2 separate regions of the Homo sapiens genome follow, and region 1 is linked to region 2. Evidence: promoter capture Hi-C in 16 types of primary human blood cells and fetal thymus (Javierre and others, 2016). All regions are on one chromosome and are shown on one strand. Each heading gives the region's core, a stretch centred on a gene start or on the middle of the fragment in contact. The rest is flanking DNA. Distances are from core to core; before and after follow the strand shown.

Region 1 (4,651 bases), core at 1,290-3,789, 740 kb after region 2:
TTTACATTTTTTCTTTTTTTAGAAATCGCCAGACTTTTCCACAGTGGCGGCACCATTTTACATTTCCACCAGCACTGCACAAGGGTTCCAGCTTCTCCATATCCTCCCCAACACGTGTTGTGTTTTGCTATTTTTTAAAGAATAGCTATCTTGAAAGGTGTGAATTTATTTTATTTTATTTTATTTTATTATTATTATTTTTTGTCTCGCTCTGTCACCCAGGCTGGAGTGCAGTGGGTGATCATAGCTCACTGCAGCTTCAACTTCCCAGGCTCCAGCAATCCTCCCGCCTCACCCTCCCGAGTAGCTGGGACTATGGGCCTGCTCCACTGAGTCTAATTTAAAAAAAATTACAGGCGTGGTGGCTCACGCCTGTAATCCCAGCACTTTGGGAGGCCGAGGTAGGTGGATCTCTTGAGGCCAGGTGTGGTGGCTCACGCCTGTAATCCCAGCACTTTGGGAGGCCGAGGTGGGTGGATCTCTTGAGGCCAGGTGTGGTGGCTCACACCTGTAATCCCAGCACTTTGGGAGGCCAAGGCACGTGGATCTCTTCAGGTCAGAAGTTCGAGACCAGCCTGGCCCACAAGATGAAACCCCGTCTCTACTAAATATACAAAAAATTAGCCGGGCGTGGCAGCACCTGCCTGTAGTCCCAGCTACTTGGGAAGCTGAGGCAGGAGAATTGCTTGAACCTGGAGGCTGAGGCTGCAGTGAGCCAAGATCGTGCCACTGCACTCCAGCCTGGGCAACAGAGTGAGACTCTGTCTAAAAAAAAAAAAAAAAAAAAAAGTTGCACATGTAAAGGTACAGACTTGTTCTGAATGTGGGTGAGAATGAACCAGGAAACTCAGAAACAAAAGTGAGCATCCTTAGGGGAAAACTCCCTCTTTGTTCTGGGTACTGCCAACCAACGTTGTTGGCTCTTTTAGTCATACGGGATCACGGCTGGCAATGATCTGCTGTTCTTGGGGGAAAAGGAACCATTTGGAAGGCATTTGCCTGCTGGTCCTTCAGAATGAGATGCCAAGTATTTCAGTAACCAAAAGGCTGGCTTTATTGTGGACAGAGTGTGTTTTTATTAATGCCTAGTTACACCGACTAATTTCTACTTGGGTCTCCAAGTAGTTTTGTTTGTTTTTATTTTTGGTTTTGTTTCTACTTCGGTCTCCAAGTTTTGTTTGTTTGTTTGTTTTTTGAGATGGAGTTTCACCCAGGCTGGAGTGCAGTGGCACAATCTCGGCTCACTGCAACCTCTGCCTCCCGGGTTCAAGCGATTCTCCTGCCTCAGCTTCCTGAGTAGCTGGGATTACAGGTGTGCACCACCACACCTGGCTAATTTTTGTATTTTTAGTGTAGATGGGGTTTCACCATGTGGGCCAGGCTGGTCTCAAACTCTTGACCTCTTGACCTTGATCCGCCCACCTTGGCCTCCCAAAGTGCTGGGATTACAGGCATGAGCCACCGTGCTCAGTCAGGTGTCCAAGATTTACGGGAGGAGGGGGACCTTTAACTCCACGGAACTAAGAACATGGCTAAAGGAGACCATCTTTCAGGAGAGATGAACTAGCCACAGCAACATAGTATGAAGGTGGGGCCCCCAAGAAGAAACCCAGCCCAAGCACATGGTTCTCTTTTTTTTTTTTTTTCTTTATGACACCATCTCACTCTGTTGCCCAGCTAGAGTGCAATGGTGCAATCACAGGTCATTGCAGCCTCGACCTCCGAGGCTCAAGTGATCCTCCCACCTCAGCCTCCTGATAGCTGGGACTACAGGCATGTGCCACTGCATCTGGCTACTTTTTAAATTTTTCATTGAGACTGGGGTCTCACTATGTTACCCAGGCTGGTCTTGAACTCCTGGGCTCAGTGATCCTCCTGCCTCGATGTCCCAAAGCACTAGGATTACAGACATGAGCCACTGACCCCAGCCTTGTTCCCTCTTTCTTTTGCTTCATTCATTCTAGGGGTGACTGGCAACCATGCCGTGAAGACACTCAAGCAATTCTGTGGAGAAGGCCATGGAATGAGGAGCTGAGACTTCCTGCCAACAACCAGTCATCTAGGTAAGTAAGCTTGGAAGTGAAGCCTCCAGCCCCAGTTGAGCCTTCAGATGAGATAGCCCCAGCTGATAGCTTGGCTGCAACCTCATGAGAGACCTGGAGCCAGAAGAACCCAATTTCAAAGTAGCTCCTAAATTCTCAATCCACAGAAACTGTGAGATGATAAATGTTTGTCATTTCAAGTCACTATATTTTGGGATAATTTGTTATGCAGCAGCAACTAACAAAAACATAGAGATAGTATGTTAGGGACAAATGCAAGATGCAGAACCATGGGTGTAGTAGGCTATTATGTGTGTAAAAAATTTGCATATATAAAAATTTCATTTTATATTTATGCATAATTTATTTCCCAAAAGGACACACAAAAAACTGACAATGGTGACCGCTTCCACAGAGAGGAACTGAGTGGCTGAGGCTCATGAATCAGAGGGAAATTTTCGCCAATTAACCTTTGTATCTTTTGGTGCCTTGTGAATTTTGTACCACATGTATGTATGTCTGTTACCTATTCAGAATGAATGGTTGAACAAAGGAGAATGAATGAATGAATCTTACCTTGATCAAGGATTTTGCAGCCTTCCGACAAGCCTCATAGTACTGGTTGAAATTCAGAATTTCCCACTTTTTGCCATTCTTGGATGCGAGGGCTGGATAAGTTCCAAATCGGTTGACTGACTCTCGAAAAAATTCAGGGATGGTCATCGGGGTCTCATGGCCTGGTCCGTGTTTGGATAGCCTCAGAAGGACTTCTCCATCTCGACAGGTGGTCCACAGCCTGGGAGTAACTGCAAATAGTCACCAGAGTTGGGTGGCAAATGTTTTTATTTATTTAATAACTTTGGACGGGGGGCGGTTGGTGTCTTTTTGGACCTAAGGTGCTGAGAGTTGAATTAATCCCCTTCTAGGGTGAAGTTATGTGGTCAACACTGGCAAGACAAGCTTCCTTTCTCTTTATTTATTTTTTCATTCCCCGCCCCGCCAAATTTTAATAGTCAAAAGGATTGTATACCAAATACTTTCTTATCCAACACCTAGATTCTACAACTGCTAGCGTTTTACCATATTTTATCACACATCTATCCTGCTGTCTTTGTTATGTCCATTTTTTTTTTCTTTCTTTCTTTTTTTCTGGAGACACGGTCTTGCTCTGTCAGCAGGCTGGAGTGCACTGGCACAATCACAGCTCACTGCAACCTTGACCTCCTAGGCTCAAGCCATCCTCCCACCTCAGCCTCCCAAATAACTGGAACTACAGGCAAACACCACCATGCCTAGCTAATTTATTTTTTAATGTTTTGTAGAGATGGGGTTCTACTGTGTTTCCGAGGCTGATCTCAAACTCCTGGGCTCAAACAATCCTCCTCCCTTAGTTTCTCAAAGTGCTGGGATTACAGGCATGAGCCACCGCACCTGGCCCCATCTTATTTTTTTTATTATTATTTTGTTTTGTTTTGTTTTTGTTTTTGAGACGGAGCTTTGCTTTTCTTGCCCAGGTTGGAGTACAATGGCACGATCTTGGCTCACTGCAACCTCCGCCTCCCGGGTTCAAGCGTTTTTCCTGCCTCAGCCTCCCGAGTAGCTGGGATTACAGGCATGCACCACCACGCCTCGCTAATTTTATATTTTTAGTAGAGATGGAGTTTCTCCATGTTGGTCAGGCTGGTCTCGAACTCCCGACTTCAGGTGATCCGCCCGCCTTGGCCTCCCAAAGTGCTGGGATTACAGGCATGAGCCACCGCGCCTGGCCTATTATTATTTTTTGAGACGGAGTCTCACTCTTTTGCCCAGGCTGGAGTGCAGTGGCGTGATCTTGGCTCACCCCGACCTACACCTCCCAGGTTCAAGCGATTCTTCTGCCTCAACCTGCCGAGTAGCTGGGATTACAGGCACCCGCCACCACATCTGGCTAATTTTTGTATTTTTAGTAGAGATGGGGTTTCACCATGTAGCCCAGGCTGGTCTCGAACTCCTGACGTCAAGTGATCCACCTGCCTCGGCCTCCCAAAGTGCCGGGATTACAGGCATGAGCCACCGCGCCTGGCTCCATCTGATTTTTTGATGCATTTCCAAGTGAGCCAAAGCTATTCATCCATTTACCCTTAAACACCCTTGCATGTAAATCATTAACAAGAGTCACATATTTAATATTATTTACGGAGATTTTTTTAAAGGTAAAATGTACATGCAGTGGACTATGTATGCTTTGGCCAATGAAACATAAGAAGTGAGTTATGTGTGTCGTTCATGGGGAGAAGATTTAAGACCCGGTGCATAATTCCCCATCGTCCATTGTCCTGTCACAAAAATGGTGGAGCAAATGTGAAGAAGTAGCCCCTCTCCCCCAATGCCAGACACACAACATGAGTAAGAAACACACTTGTGTTGTGTTAAGCCATTGAGGTTGTTGAGGGGGTTGTTGAGGGGGTTGCCTGTCACAGCGACATCACCCAGATCAGCCAAATGGAACTAGCAAAGGGACCAATTCAAAACCAGTTTTGGGGTCCTGTATCTATCACTTCTTTTGGGGATGAGTAAGGGTTGACACTGAGAAAGAAGAGAACAGGGTTTCCTCTGGAGACAGTTGTTGG
Region 2 (4,375 bases), core at 1,670-4,169:
GTGCATAACACAACATCCTGTGAAGAAAGAAAAGAAAAACACCATGAACCACCAAAAAAAAAAAAAAAAAAAAAAACCTTTTGGGCTCAACCTGCAAAATTACTCCTGGCTTGGCCCCACAGAAATAGGTTTGAAGAGGCTAGATGACAAACCTAGTTAAGGAACAAACATACACTATTTTGCATAAGCTTAACAATGACCATTCCTGGTTTTCTGTACTTTGCTTTTGCTTTTCATTTTGTCTGTCTTTATCTTCTTTTTCTTTTTGATTAAATAGTTCCAGGCTAAGCACTGTGGTGCACACCTATAATCCCAGCCCTTCGGGAGGCCAAGGTGGGAGGATCACTTGAGACCAGCAGTTTGACACCGGCCTGGACAACACAGTGAGACTTTGTCTCTACAAAAAAAAAATTTTTTAAATTAGCTGGGTGGTGGTGACAACTTGTAGCCCCAGCTACTCAGGAGGCTGAGGTGGAAGGATTGCTTGAGCCCAGGAGATAGAGACTGCAGTGAGCCAAGATCATGCCACTGCGCTCCAGCCTAGGTGACCCTGTCTAAAAAAAAAAGTTCTAGCTGATTTTCAAAAACATACATTAAAGCATGCATTCTCAAAAGGGGTGATATATCCTCTAAGGACCCAAACTTGGTTCTCAGGAAGAGATCTTTTTAAGCTTACTCTTTTATGTATAAGATACATATGTATATATAGAAAATACATATATAGGTATACAGTATATCTGTAGTATTAACATTTCATGAGAGGGTAGGGCAATTCGTTTTTCTTTCCTTTTTTTTTTTTTTTTTTTTTTTGAGATGGAGTCTCACTCTGTCACCAGGCTGGAGTGCAGTAGCGTGATCTAGGCTCACTGCAACCACCAACTCCCTGGTTCAAGCTATTCTCCTGCCTCAGCCTCCCGAGTAGCTGGGATTACAAGCACGCACCACCACGCCCAGCTAATTTTTGCATTTTTAGTAGAAACGGGGTTTCTCCATGTTGGCCAGGATGGTCTCGATCTCCTGACCTCATGATCTGCCTGCCTCAGCCTCCTAAAGTGCTGGGATTACAAGCGTGAGCCACTGCGCCCTGCCCATTTTTTAGTGTTTAAAGGCAATGCAGCCCTGCAGCATTTAGGTCTCCTGCACCATCATCATTATCGCCATCATTATCACTATCATCATCACCATCATCATCTTCATCATCACCATCATCATCATCATTATTATCACCATCATCACCATTATCATCATCACCATCACCATTATCACCATCACCACCATCATCATCATCACCACCATAATCACCAACATCACCATCTTCATCGTCATTATCACACCATCATCACCACCATCATCATCATTATCCCTATCATCACCATTATCATCATCACCATCATCACCATCTTCATGGTCATTATCACACCATCATCATCACCATCATCTTCATTATCACTATCATCACCATTATCATCATCATCATCATCACCATCACCATCATCATCACCATTTTCATCATCACTATTATAACCACCACCATCATGATCATTATCATCACTATCATTATCACAACTCTTTGCTGATTATCTTCAGGGCAGAATAGGGAGTGTTAATGGTTAATACCATTGCCAACACCCCAAAATAACAACTCTGCATGCCTACATTTGATGTCCACAGGCCACCTATTTCTTCTAATGTAGCCTGCCAGTCAACAAGTCCCACAGATCTAAACTCCCAAATTCTATCTATTATTACTAACAAAAATTCTTCTACTCATTCATTAATTATTTTAGAGGTAATTCAGCATGCTGTTTAGGCATACAAAGTCTGAAGTCAAAGTGCTTAGGTTTAAAAATCTGGCTTCACCAATTAATGATTGCGTGGCCTTGAGGAAGTTATTTAATCTCTTTGTGCCTCAGTTTCCTCCTTGGTAAAATAGGGTATTCAGATCCACTCTTCAACAGCAGAGGAAACCCATACTTGCTACTTAGAATATGTCCCCAATATCCTCCATTCTTAAATTTGATCCAATGACCAAAACACACAAGACATAGAAGAAAAACCAGAAACACAGAAGATAAACAAGGCTGAGACAAACTGACACCTGAAGAAAGAGAAATAAGAGCACAGGAAGGGTCTATCTCATCCTTCAGGACTCAGCTCGAACTGCCCCTCCTCAACCCCAGACTTCTCCCTTCAACATAACTCCCGACCACATTCTATAACAACTTCTTTCATAGCACTTATCACTACCTGAAATTCCTATGTTTACTTATTTTTTGGGGCAACATAGTATAGTGGAAAAGCTTACAGACTCTGAAGTCAGACTGTCTGGCTTGAAATCCTGCCTCTACCCCTTATTGACTAAGTGGCCTTGGGAAAATTATTTTATCTCTTTTGCCTCAGTTTTCTCATTTGCAAAATAGGACTAATAATGACCCAATGTCATAGAAATGTTGTGACAATTGGATACACTCTATGTTTAAAGAAGTTACAGCAGTGCTAAGTGGGCTATGATCATCTGTGCCTTCTTTCCTGTCTGCTCCTACCCACTAGAATATCAGCCTCAAGAGTGCAGGAACTTAGTCTTTTTTTCTCACTGCTATATCCTCTAGTGCCTAGAACAGCACCTGACACACAGGACTTGCTCAGGTCAAATGAATGACTATAGAGAAAAATCTATCCTAACAGATGGACTTCCCTGAGCTATGGAATTTTGTCAAAGGTTCCCTGAATGAAGGTGTTTGCAGCATCCAGTCTGGACTTATGATCTCTTGGCTGGACCATCCATGGCCCTCCCATTTCTCCTGAAGTCTATTTCCAATCCAGGCCTCCCCTAGCCCCCCATTCAGCCTCACACTCACCCCAGAAGAGGAGCAGGTTGAAGCCACGCATTATGCTGTAGTTCTGTCATTCAAAGAAAAGAAACTTTTCTACTAACGCTGGGTTTTCAGTAACCAGAAGGTGTGCGAAGAGGGGAAGGCGGAGTCAGAGTTGCTCAATGCTGCCTGGTCATCATAGCCCTTTTTGCTGACTTGCTGCAACTAAAAGACAGCCTAGAAAATCCTAATTTCCCCCTTTCTTCACAATAAAGAGAAGTTAATCTGCCTAATGTATATCATTCTCTCTCTCTCTCCTTCCCATGGTCTCTCCCTTTTTCTTTCCCATCAACATCTATCTCCCATCTCTCAACACCTTCTTTCATTGCACCCAATAAAGGAGCTTCCGCTTCCTGCCTCCAGTGAAGCAAATCTCAGCCTTTAGGGTCTCTTCCCAGTCTCCCGTATAAAGACAGCCATCACAACCATCATGTACCAGGCAGTGTGCTAGGCACATTGGCAACAAAGTGTAATTTCATTATCATGTTAACCTTGTAAAGTAGGAATTCCCCTCCCTCCCTCTATTCACCAACAAAATGGAAACTGAGACTTGCAGAGGAGTTATAACTTGTCCAAGATCTCTCAGACTTGAGATTTGAACCCAGGACCCTCTGATTCCAGAGTCAAGAGCTTTAACCATCTTATTTTCCTTCAGATCTCAACTCTGTCTGACGATTATACAGCAACACTTCCACCCCATTCCCAGCTTCCTAACTCTCTCTGGTAACATCTTAGGGTCTCACAAGGGCAGACCCTCAGACAAGGATTCTAGCAAAAGTAGTTTATCAAGAAGGTGGCCCCAGAAAGCACCAGCTGGGGGAGGAGAAAGTGAATCAGGAAAGGCAAAGAGCCAATACTGGGTGTGTCTTCAAATAAGTTACATGGTGAGAAAGTGGAACTTAACCTCCCCAGGGATGACTGGGGAGCGGCATGGAACATACTCTTCAGTTATTCCAACCGAGGGGTGAGGGAGCTGAGGTATTTATATCCCACCTACTGTCAGTCATGGGTTGACTTGAGGCTTGCTCCTAGAGGGTGTCAACCCCTTGAATCTTCAGGCCTGGCCTCCAAGCAGATAGAATGGGCTCCAGTTGATGTAATCCCACTGATAACAAAGTGTAGTGACTGGCAGATATTGAAGCAGTGTCATCCATCTGGGGTAATACCCGAGGTTCATTGCCTCACACCAAGGAAATAGAAAATACAGACATGGCCGGGCACCGTGGCTCACACCTGTAATCTCAGCACTTTGGGAGACTGAGGAGGGTGGATTACGAGGTCAGGAGTTCAAGACCAGCCTGGCCAAGATGGGGAAACCCCGTCTTTACTAAAAATACAAAAAATCAGCCAGTGTGGTATGGTGTTAGGCACCTGTAATCCCAGCTACTCCGGAGGCTGAGGCAGAGAATTGCTTGAACCCAGGAGGCGGAGGCTGCAGTGAGCCGAGATCGTGCCACTGCACTCCAGCCTAGGCAACAGAGTGGGACTCTGTCTTAAAATAA

The links. The method cuts DNA at HindIII sites, captures the fragments that hold promoters and counts their contacts. A CHiCAGO score of 5 or more calls a contact.
Region 1: a fragment that was not itself captured here is called in contact with the fragment with the promoter of ADGRE1 in region 2 in 1 of 17 cell types (naive B cells); the score reaches 5.8 in naive B cells.

Annotation. Positions count from the first base shown.
Region 1 is chr19:6,145,643-6,150,293 of GRCh38, reverse strand. ACSBG2 (acyl-CoA synthetase bubblegum family member 2) reads right to left here. Exons shown (of 15, transcript NM_030924.5): 3 at 2,619-2,848. LOC105372255 (a long non-coding RNA gene) reads left to right here. Exons shown (of 4, transcript NR_187772.1): 3 at 1,965-2,063. Among named protein-coding and RNA genes, the nearest start is that of ACSBG2, 12 kb to the right of the region's middle. The HindIII fragment of the contact is 930 bases long and covers 2,075-3,004 here.
Region 2 is chr19:6,886,123-6,890,497 of GRCh38, reverse strand. It overlaps ADGRE1 (adhesion G protein-coupled receptor E1), which reads right to left and starts at 2,919. Exons shown (of 21, transcript NM_001974.5): 1 at 2,859-2,919; 2 at 1-17. The coding sequence starts at 2,889. RefSeq lists an enhancer at 2,866-2,925. The HindIII fragment of the contact is 2,856 bases long and covers 2,303-4,375 here.